Linked DNA regions of Homo sapiens: all the other regions are linked to region 1. The links are contacts of gene promoters, found by promoter capture Hi-C in blood cells and fetal thymus (Javierre and others, 2016). All regions are on one chromosome and are shown on one strand. Each heading gives the region's core, a stretch centred on a gene start or on the middle of the fragment in contact. The rest is flanking DNA. Distances are from core to core; before and after follow the strand shown. Region 1 holds the start of MXI1 (MAX interactor 1, dimerization protein). Region 2 overlaps DUSP5-DT (DUSP5 divergent transcript). Region 3 overlaps ADD3-AS1 (ADD3 antisense RNA 1).

Region 1 (3,506 bases), core at 554-3,053:
TTTCACACAAGGGCCAGTTTTTGCAAAATGGCATTGGAGAAAGCTTGTTTGAAACTGTGCATACATGAGGTCTTCCTAACATTTTTAGATGTTTACAGGCATTTCAACACGAATAACTCAGGTTGTGGTTCTCACAGAAGCAAAAAATCAGTAATTGTTCTAATAATGGAAGATAAACTTTTTTTTTTTTTTTTTTTGAGACGGAGTCTGGCTCTGTCGCCCAGGCTGGAGTGCAGTGGCGCTATCTCGGCTCACTACAAGCTCCGCCTCCCGGGTTCACGCCATTCTCCTGCCTCAGCCTCCGGAGTAGCTGGGATTACAGGCATGCGCCACCACGCCCGGCTAATTTTGTATTTTTGGTAGAGACAGCGTTTCTCTATGTTGGTCAGGCTGGTCGCGAACTCCCAACCTCAGGTGATCTGCCCGCTTTGGCCTCCCAAAGTGCTGGGATTACAGGCGTGAGCCACTGCGTCCGGCCATCAAGAGTTTTTATGACAATGTGTATGAAGCTGCCTTTGAGTAGGGTGGCTGCATCGCACACCTCCAGGGGGCAGCATTGTCTTTGTCCTCTATATAAATGGTTCCCCTGGAGGAAAACTCCAGGTGACCTTGCAAAGTAACCATATTTAGATGGGCTTGTCATAGAGATATTTTCCAAGGAAGTGCAGAAGAGTCTTGTTCACTACATCTTGTTCCTTTCTTAGATACAAGTTACATCAGAATAGGGGACTCAGGCTCTTGCCTGGGTCTGGATTGGAAGAAAAAGAGCTTACCATGGGCCAGAGTGTGCTAAGTCAGATACAATACACAAGCATCTTATCACACATTTCAATGATGTGGAAACTTAGGCCAAGAGAGGTTAAGGGACTTGTCCAAGCTCACACAGTCTGTATGCAGCAGAGCTGGGATTTGAACCCTTTCCTATGGCACCCTAGAGCAGCCTTCAATCATCCCCTGACACCTCCAGTACTTCCCAGGGCTGGAAAGCATCCATGATTGCGGACAGCAGTGGCAGTGAAACAATGTCAGCTGGGGTAGGGGTTTTCAGAGGCAAAAGGTGGAATTCAGCTGGGGAGGGGGGTGGTTCCTGAGCTGCCACTTCTGCCTCTCAAATTAAAGGGAGCCAGGTGTGGAGGCATCCTGGTGTGAGCTTTGCACAGCTGAACCAAGGCTGGGCAGAGGAGTGTGGAGAGGGATGCTGACATCTCCTCCCACTTCTGGAAAATAACTTTGCATTTGAAGGGAGAAAGGCATGAGTAAATCTGTAACTCGGATTTGGACGGCCTGGGATTTCATTTGACTGTGTGAAGGCACACACAGGTGCCTCGCAAGTGTGTGCGTGATTACGTATGTATGTGTGTCTGTGAGTAGGAGTGTTTGTGTTGGGGGTGGGGGGATCTTCTGGTTACACACTGGTTCCCTTCTTCCCATTTGGATTGGGGAGCTTTTATTTATTTATTTTTAAGTCATAGCAGCCACCATGTATGGGGACCTAACTATGTGCCAGGCATTGTGCTGGACACTTTCTGAGGCATTATTTTTCTGTGAAAAAAGTAGTTTGTTTTTATGCAGGTGCACCCAGAGACATCAGGTATTTTTTTCCATTCCGGTTAAAAGACAGTGTTCTACTCTGTGGTAAGCCTTGGGGAGAGGCAGGGAAGCCTGCGGGGACGGGCAGGGGCGGTCCCTGCCTCGCTCGCTAGTCTCCACCTTTTATTTTGACCGGTCCGATGGCGACAGGCTCGCACTAGGACCCAGGCGCCAGAGTGCCTCCGTCTGTCCTGTAGGTTCATTCAATCTCCCATACACACAGACTCACAGCGAGACCGACACACACTCCCATACACTCACACACACAACTGCAGGCAGCGAGGCTCGGGAAGTCAGGCCGGCTTTTCGCCCCGGCGCCTTCTCTGCTCCAGCCGGCCGGGTCTCCCTGGGGGCCCGGAGCTCGGCCGGGCCGCGCAGCCCCGTTAGAGGACGAGCTCGGCGGACCCCCGCTCCTCCATGGGCAAACGCGGGCGGCCGCGCAAGGAGGCGCGCTGCGAGGGCGCGGGGCTGGCCCCCGCCGCGCCCCCGGCTGTGCCCCCCGCCGTGGCCGCGCCCCAGCCCCCGGCCCTGCCCGAGGACCCCGCTGGGGCCAAGCCCAGGTGCCCCTTCTCAGACATTTTCAACACCAGCGAGAACTCGATGGAGAAGCACATCAACACTTTTCTGCAGAACGTGCAGATTCTGCTCGAGGCCGCCAGCTACCTGGAGCAGATCGAGAAAGAAAACAAAAGTAAGTTTGGGGGCCCCTGCTCTTCCTCGGCGCCCGGTTCTTTCTTTCTCGCCCACTTGGGCGACCCCTGTTGCGAGCTCGGCCCGTCCCCCCCCCGCCCAACATACACATCCAGCCCTTGGCAGTAAAGCCGATGACACCGGAGAAAGGACACGCACGCACAAAGCTGCTAAAGATGTAACAAAGACGGGCGAGGGGGAGAGGGGCCTGTCGGTGCGTCGGTCTGTCCTCTCCGGCGGGCTGGGGCTGGGAGGATGGCCCAGCGGAGGAGCGGGGGAGTGTTGTTGTTTGCTGACAACTGAGCCGAGAGCTCATCTCTTTGAGGTCGCTTTTCTTCCTTTTTTTTTTTTTTTTTTCCGGAGCCTTCTCAGGCAGACAAGTGTTGTTTTTCTGTTGCTCGTTCCTGGGTGGGGTGGGGATTAGAAGCCGAAAGTTGGAAACCATAGGCAGAGCTCAGAGGTTCCAGAAAGAAAACACACAGACACACACTACAACAATAACAACCAAACAGCTCTCCACGGCGTGGGCTCGGCTCTGTCTCTCTCTCTCCCTCCTACTTCGCCTTTTTCCTTCCCTCTAGCAGCAGGACTGGGCTCAGGCCATCACGTCTACGGACACAGTCCCCCTGCACGTCCGTTGCCGTGGGGTGCCACCGCCGCCCCCCCCCCCCCAAAGAAGGAGGCCGGCGGGGCCAAGCAACGCCAGCAGCTCGCCCCGGACACGCCGTCCTGAGCCCGGGAAACTTGGCCGTGGGGACGCGGCTAGAAGGAAACTTTGGGATCTTTGAGAAACAATAGTTGGGGAAGAAGGTGTGGGCTGTTCTGTGCTTTTTCTTTATTTTCCGGGAGACGGCTCTTGAGTGAGCGCACAGGGCAAGCAAGGCAAACGCCTTCCTGGTCGATTTCTACTCCCCCCACCCGCCCACCCCCAGATTCACGTGGATAGTAGTGCGTGGGTGGGGGTGTGCTGGGAACCCCACCCTGGCCTGGCTTCTTTTTTGTATTTATTTGTTTCATTTTTGCCCCTACCAGCCAGGTCACCCAGCTTTCCCCAGGCAGTCGACTCAGCGCCCTAACGGGGGCACGCGTGTGCAGCGTATCCAGCACCGTCCTCAGAATAATAGCTGTGAAAAGGAGGAAGGGAACTAGGCAGACAGACCGACAGATAGGGGGAAACCGGGATGTTTAATGTGTCCGAACAAGTAGGAAGATCAATGAGGCGCGAG
Region 2 (3,506 bases), core at 435-2,934, 280 kb after region 1:
TAGCTGGGATTACAGGCGTGCACCACCACGCCCAGCTAATTTTGTATTGTTTAGTAGAGATGGGGTTTCTCTGTTTTGGTCAGGCTGGTCACGAACTCCGCACCTCAGGTGATTCGCCCGCCTTCGTGGCGTGAGCCACCGCTCCCGGCCGATGATTTTTTCTTTTAATGAGTCTCCATAAAGTCAATTTTGGGAATGATAAAGGAGGTGATAATACAATAGCAAAATCCGTGAGGGTGGTAAGAAACTGGAGTCTGGGAAATGCCTCCAGACACCAAAGTAGAGAAAAGGAGAGAAAGGAAAGGAAACCAGCCAGGGGCTCTCTACCCAGAGGCTACTTACATTTAATGTATAGTTCTCTCCCAGTGGCCCACCCAGGCTCTTACTAAGGAGAAAATACAATGCTCAGTTGATGGCACAGACTTCCCATTTAACAAATAAAAACCTTAAAAAAAAAGAAAAAGAAAAAAGAGGCCAGCACAGTGGCTCACGCCTGTAATCCCAGCATTTCCAGAGGCCAAGACAGGAGGACTGCTTGAGGTCAGGAGTTTGAGACCAGCCCGGGCAACACAGGGAGACTTCATGTCTACCAAAAAAACTTCAAAATTAGTGGAGCTGTGGTCCCAGCTACTCAGGAGGCTGAGGTGAGAGGAATGCTTGAGCCTGGGAGGCTGCGGTGAGCCGCGATCACGCCACTGCACTCCAGCCTGGGCAACAGAACAAGACCCTGTCTCAAAAGAAGAAAAGAAAAGGACCAAGTGGTACTAGCCATTTGTCTTCCTGGCCAGAATCTCTAGGGCAAAACAGGAGAGAAGACAAATATTCCCCTAAACTCCTCCCACCCCAGCCTACTTCCCGCCTGAGCACCATCCAAATTGGAGTCAAAGCACAGAAAGGAAGTGCTGCCTGGGGAGGCCGAAGCTGGGGGATAAAATCCTACTCCTATGCTCCAGGGATAGCCGGTGGCTACTCAAGGGAGAGGGAAGACCCGCATCTCTTTCCTTTCAGGTGTTTGCACTCTTCTATCTCTTGCTTTCTCTAATGCTGTCCAGGACACTTAGTGGCACCACTTTTTATTTTTTATATATTTTTAAAATTTATTTTATTTTATTTTAAGATGTGATCTTGCTTTGTCATCCAGGCTGGAGAGCAGTGGCGTGATCATGGCTCGCTGCAGCCTCAAACTCCTCAGCTCAAGCAATCCTCTTGCCTCAGCCTCCCAGGTAGCTGAGGCTACAGGCACACACCATCATGCCAGGCTAGCAACTATTTTTTGTAGGACCTTTGAACTTTGAGGAAATGGACATTCTCTGCTATACCCCCGGTGTCATTCAGGGATCACAAGTAAAGAGTTATGGAAAATAAGCAAAAAGTCTTCTAAGAATCTGGAAAACAGACATTGTAAGGAACAAGGACTGTTATTTTAGAAAACAGAAAGTGAGGAAGGGATAAGATTACCATCTTCAGTATTTCAAAGAGGGTCTAGGTTTACATTGCATTTTTCCAGACCTGAAAGCAAAAGTTAGAAGACACACAGAAGTCCGTTTCAGCTATGTGACCTTGGCCAACTGTAAAATAGGGACAACAGATAGTACTTACATCATAGGGTAGTCATGAGGATTAAGTGCTAAGGACATACCTAGCATCTCGTAAAATCCCAGGATACACTTGTTTCCTTTTTTGGCCTCATTCAAAAATGTCTCATGAGGCAGTCAGCTCCCCTTCTGGCAAATTTCAATGTAGAATCATAATTCCTTACTGCCAAAATTCTGAGCTTTGGTGCTGCCCATGACTTTTCATTAAAAAAAAAAAAAAAAAATAGTGGTTCACATGGAGCCCTTGCCATGCTCCAGGCACGCAGAGAAGGGCTTTATGTAGGTACTTTTTAATCTTCTCATCAGCCCTATGAGGTAGGGAGGTAGGTATTATTATCACCCTTGTTAGTTTTTTTGTTTTGTTTTGTTTTCCAGATGAGAGAATCATTGCTCACAGAAGTGAAGTAACTTTTCCAAGGTCATACAATCAGTAAGTGGCAGGCAAGGACTGAAATCCAAGTTGTTACCCTCCAAAGTCCCTGCTCTGAGAACTGGAGGAATTCTTTATCAAATCTAAAATCCTCTTTTAGGCCTGTCTGCTTTAATATTCCGGTCTTTATTGATCCTTCTCTTCTCTAAAACTTCAGCTGTCAGTATAAAAATCAAGGAATTTAGCACTTGTTATTGTGTGAACAGCTTCTTGTCTCTCCTGTACTGTAAGTGGGTCTAGGGATTTTTATTCTTTAAATATCCCCCTGTACTCAGTAGATCTTTGGGAGAACAAGCTCATAGGCTTCTAATAATTCTTTCTTTGACTGCCAGCTGAATTAGACAGAAGGTAAGTCCTGCTGCCGTGTCGTGCCTAACCCCATCTTTATTTCCTGTGCTGTTAGAGAACAGTCTTTTCTTGGCTGGAACAAATACTACAGCCTGCTCAACTAGCTAATATGTATTGAGTTCTTAATATGTTCCAAGGACTGCTCTAAGTATTTTATATATATTAACTCACTGAATCTTAAATACCCTATGAGCTAAGTCCTATTTTTATCCCCATTTTACAAAAGAGGAAACTGAATGTACCAGTGCATCAGTATTTGACTGAGTAAATGAATGACTGCTTTGCTGATGGATAGTATTATTAGCAACAACCCTACAAATATGATGTTATGTTTGCATCATGCAGTACAGCTTTATGTACCTTATGTCATTGTCACTCATGATTAGCAAATAGGCACGAACATCCCTATTTTATAGAAGAGGAAACCATGGCTCTAAGAGGGTGAGTGATTCTCAACAGTCACATGCCATCTGTATCCTTCAGTAAACAAGGTATTTGGTCCATTCCAGGATCGGGGGCAAGAGAGATGGGAGGGCCTCGGTGAGAAACACTCATATTCACAAAAGGTACTAGATAGATAGACAGATAAATAAATAAATAGAGATAAAAGCTAGTAATAGCAGAGATTTGATGGGAATTCAGATCTTTGATTCCTAGTCCAGTGCTCTTTCTTTTATGTAAGGTGATGGGAAGCAAGTCTTAGGTCCAGATCTGGCAGCTGCTTTGATTTAGGATCTTAAGCCAGAAGCAGCAGCGCCCTAAACAAAAAGCATCATTTTAACTTCTCTGCATTTCTCACATTTTCAACAATGACCATGCCCTACTTTCATAATTAAAAACAAACAAATAAACAGAGGGGGCAAAATGCATCCTTCTGAGTGGGCTGGGGCTTGTAGAGGGATTCTTGGGTTTGCTCTGGGATGTCTTTGGGCCCCTGCACTTGTGGGCACTCTGATTTATCCCCACAGGCCACCTGGCCCACCTTATGGGCTGAGGAGGGCTTGATGGGCGGAGGGAAGCAGAGCTGAGGAGCTGGGGAGGAGCTGGAAAGGACTGCTAGAAGGTTCCACTGAAGCTACAATGAGTAGAACCGGACATGAGAGTTTCCAGGATTCTGTAGACCTGTGAACTCC
Region 3 (3,506 bases), core at 751-3,250, 260 kb before region 1:
AATCCACGGCCCAGCCTAGGGAGTTTGGGAGTCTTAGGGAGTTTTGCTCTTGGTTTGGGATCTGGAAGCTGGTAGTCAAATCAGCAGGTTATCTCATGGACTTTCAGGTCTGGTGCTGACTGGTCCCTGGCATCCTACCATTACCATGCCTCCGCTGTTTCCTTTCTCTCTCCTTCTACTTCAGCGGCTCCTGTTGCAACTGACGAAGTCCTGATTCCATCCTTCTTCCCTCCCCATAGAGCAGCTTGTTCAGGACTTCTACGACTTCATGAATTGTATTTACTGTTTTTTTCTCTCTATGTATCTTTTGGCTTTTTTCTTCCTACCAACTGATTCTCTCACTCTCTCTTACTGATTATTCTCTTACTCTCTGACTACTGAGGGAGAACCTCTGATTTGGTTCACTTAAACACTATTTCCCTCTAGTGCAAAGGTCTTGCACCAGGCTACTTTTTAGACTATGGGCCAACCTATGCACTAGCTGACCTTGGGTCAAGTGCTCACTCCTGATCCAATTAGCTATGACGTTGGGGATGGGGTAGGGGTGGGGTCCTATGGGACACAGCATGACCACCTACCTGTGCATAAAGAGCTTAAGGCCATTTCCTCAGCAAGGAACTGTAGGTGTAGGGTTGCCAGATAAAAAACAGGATACACAGTTAAATCTGAATTTCAGATAAACAGTGAATAATTTCCTAATAGAAGTATGTCCCATAGATGGCATGGGACATGCAAATATTATTTATTGCTAAGCTGAAATGTAAATTTGTTGCTAAGCTGAAATGTAAATTTAACAAGGTGTCCTGTATTCTTATTTGCTAAATCCAGCAACCCTATATAAGGGGAATTATTAGAAGAACTTGTAGATATCCCTCGAAGGCTTGGCCAGTTCAAAAAAGAAAGGAGGTAGGAGAACCAAGGCCATGGATGCAGAGAAGGACATCCAAACTAGTCATCAAAATCAAGAGACAGGAAGCAGGTATAGGAAGCCACAGACAATAAACCCATAGATCCAGAGAAGGAATCCATGGGTGTGAGAAGTAGGAGGAGGGTGGTCCCATGTACATGCCTGATGCACAAAACTGTTGTCCCCAGCAAGCTTGTAGGTGATCTCCATGGGCAACATGTGGGAGGGGGTTCTGGAAGACAGGCAGGCAGCAGGATTCTGCTCATGGGTTCATCCAGACAAGGGACATAACCTGTGCCTATCAATGGGAAGAGGGAGATGTTAACGACATTGTCCAATCTCCAGGACAACTTGGCTTACAAAACCATAGCACAGAGAATACAGAGCAGAAAATGTAAGCAAAAGTTCAATTGTTTCAATTAGGCAAAGGTAGCCATAGGCTGTAGTTCAGGAAGCAAGCAAGCCTCTGGGACATAAGCCATGCCATTGGGATACTGGGCTCAGATGAGCACAACTAAATTGAGGTCCTACTTCTGCAGGCTGGAGACTCCAACCAACCATCTGCCAAGATAAGGGTGGGCTCAGGAACCAAGGAAGGGTTCGATTTCCTAGCAAGTGAGGCAAAGGAAGGCTGGGCTTGGCAACTCACAGTGCTATAATTTTTTCAACTTTCACTTCCTGGGACGCTGGGGAGTCAAACCAGGCTGAACTTCCCAGAGTTGGGCCTGGACATGGAGCTGAGAGAAAGAAAGTCTGAGACCTGAATGAATGGGGAGCAGGAATCAGATTCAAAACAAAGTTTCAGCAAGGAAAATAAGGCAAGATCACAGGAGTAGTGAGGGAGACAAGGCCTAGAAAGATCCTCTCAGATAAATGTCCCTAGGGCACCTGCATCAAATCTGTGGGCAGGCAGATAGGAGTGAAATGGTTTGGGCTTTGGTTTGGTTTTTGATCATGTTGCACCACAATCCACACTTTATATACTAGTTTACCTTTACTAGGTAGGTTGCATGCTAATATTTCCTAATCTCTAATCTCTTTTATTTCATTTCTATGTTATTTAGAAATATGACTCACTACATTGATTTCATAGCCCATTAATGGGTCATACCTCATAGTTTGAAAAACATCAGCTTAGATTATATTCGATATACCTTTGGACTATTCATTTTTTTAATCACTGGCCCTTGGTAATGCCGTGTTTTGAAATGTCTGCCTTTCTCATACAACCCCTTCTCTGAGAACAGTTTCCCATTTCCCCCAGATGGGCTCTCCAAAGGCATTGAGGCTCTGGACATATGTGCCTACAACATGATGTTTCCAATCTGAGCATATCTGATTGGAGAAGAGAGGACAACTGGCCCAAAATGGACCACCAAATGTTTTCCTCCAGAAATTTGGAATTTGGCCATTGAGATTAATAGTTAGTTGGATGGTGGGTGGTCCTTGAGACAGGACTATACAACATATGGTTGTACAGGTTGTGGACTACACAACTATAGAAATTACCAGTGACAGCCAGGTGCAGTGGCTCACACCTGTAATCCCAGCACTTTGGGAGGTCAAGGTGGGTGGATCACAAGGTCAGGAGTTCGAGAACAGCCTGGCCAATATGGTGAAATCCCACCTCTACTAAAAAAAAAAAAATACAAAATAAAATTAGCCGGGCGTGGTGGCACATACCTGTAATCCCAGCTACTCGGGAGGCTGAGGCAGGAGAATGGCTTGAACCTGGGAGGCGGAGGTTGCAGTGAGCCGAAACTGCACCACTGCACTCCAGCCTGGGTGACAGAGTGAGACTCCATCTCAAAAAAAGAAAAAAAAGAAATTACCAGTGACATAGACTATAGGTAAAAGGTGCTCCCTAGGGTGGCTTAGTGTACAACCTATACAACTGTACATGACAACCCCGCTGGAGTTGAAAGTTAATTTAGTTCCAGGGCTAAAATGACTGCATTCTATCAAGTACATATGAAACAAGGTTAAAAAAAAAAAAAAGCTTTTATGATATTACCAGCTAGAACCTAAATTTATTTTAGGGAAAGAATTATCTTTGTATATGAAAGTACCATGATAAGCTGCTCAGGAAATCCTTCAATAACAAACATAAGTTGATGCCAAGACATCAGAGAAGGACAAAAGACATTCCACTGGAAATAAAGAAGAAATCTTCTCAGTTTTTCTCCTAAAATGTAGAGAAAGAGTTGAGCAATCCTATATTAGGAGGAAGCTGGTAGACCTGCCTGGAATGCCAATCTATAAGCAGTAGTGAAACCTCATTAGGATAATTTAAATGTCACCAAAAATGCAAAGAAAATTGGAAAATTTAGGCTAACAAAACTCAGAAAGAGAAGGGTACATTTTTAATGAACACTTTGATAAGCCATATGGGGTTGGGGTGAGTCCCCAGGGACATGATTGCATAAAGACAGATAGTTGTTTAAAACAAACAAACAAACAAACAAAACTCTAAAAAGGGTGGGTTGAGCAAAATCCATTTATTCTATTTTATTCTATGCATTTCTTCTATTTTAGTAAGTTGTGCATATTGGGGCCAGAGCTGAATTGCTCAGGATGACAGAGGCTGAGTGTGGTCCTT

Evidence for each region. Contacts are between HindIII fragments. The CHiCAGO score rates a contact against its expected background, and 5 or more counts as called.
Region 2: a fragment that was not itself captured here is called in contact with the fragment with the promoter of MXI1 in region 1 in 3 of 17 cell types (monocytes, neutrophils and total CD4 T cells); the score reaches 5.8 in monocytes.
Region 3: a fragment that was not itself captured here is called in contact with the fragment with the promoter of MXI1 in region 1 in 2 of 17 cell types (naive B cells and naive CD4 T cells); the score reaches 5.3 in naive B cells.

Annotation. Positions count from the first base shown.
Region 1 is chr10:110,205,802-110,209,307 of GRCh38, forward strand. It overlaps MXI1 (MAX interactor 1, dimerization protein), which reads left to right and starts at 1,804. Exons shown (of 6, transcript NM_130439.3): 1 at 1,804-2,281. The coding sequence starts at 2,008. RefSeq lists an enhancer at 1-385 and a silencer at 1,975-2,054. The HindIII fragment of the contact is 6,685 bases long and covers 42-3,506 here.
Region 2 is chr10:110,489,897-110,493,402 of GRCh38, forward strand. All of the region lies in intron 1 of DUSP5-DT (DUSP5 divergent transcript), which reads right to left. Among named protein-coding and RNA genes, the nearest start is that of DUSP5-DT, 4.8 kb to the right of the region's middle. The HindIII fragment of the contact is 5,633 bases long and covers 1-3,506 here.
Region 3 is chr10:109,949,254-109,952,759 of GRCh38, forward strand. The region is part of intron 3 of ADD3-AS1 (ADD3 antisense RNA 1); the gene reads right to left. Among named protein-coding and RNA genes, the nearest start is that of XPNPEP1, 27 kb to the left of the region's middle. The HindIII fragment of the contact is 1,807 bases long and covers 1,098-2,904 here.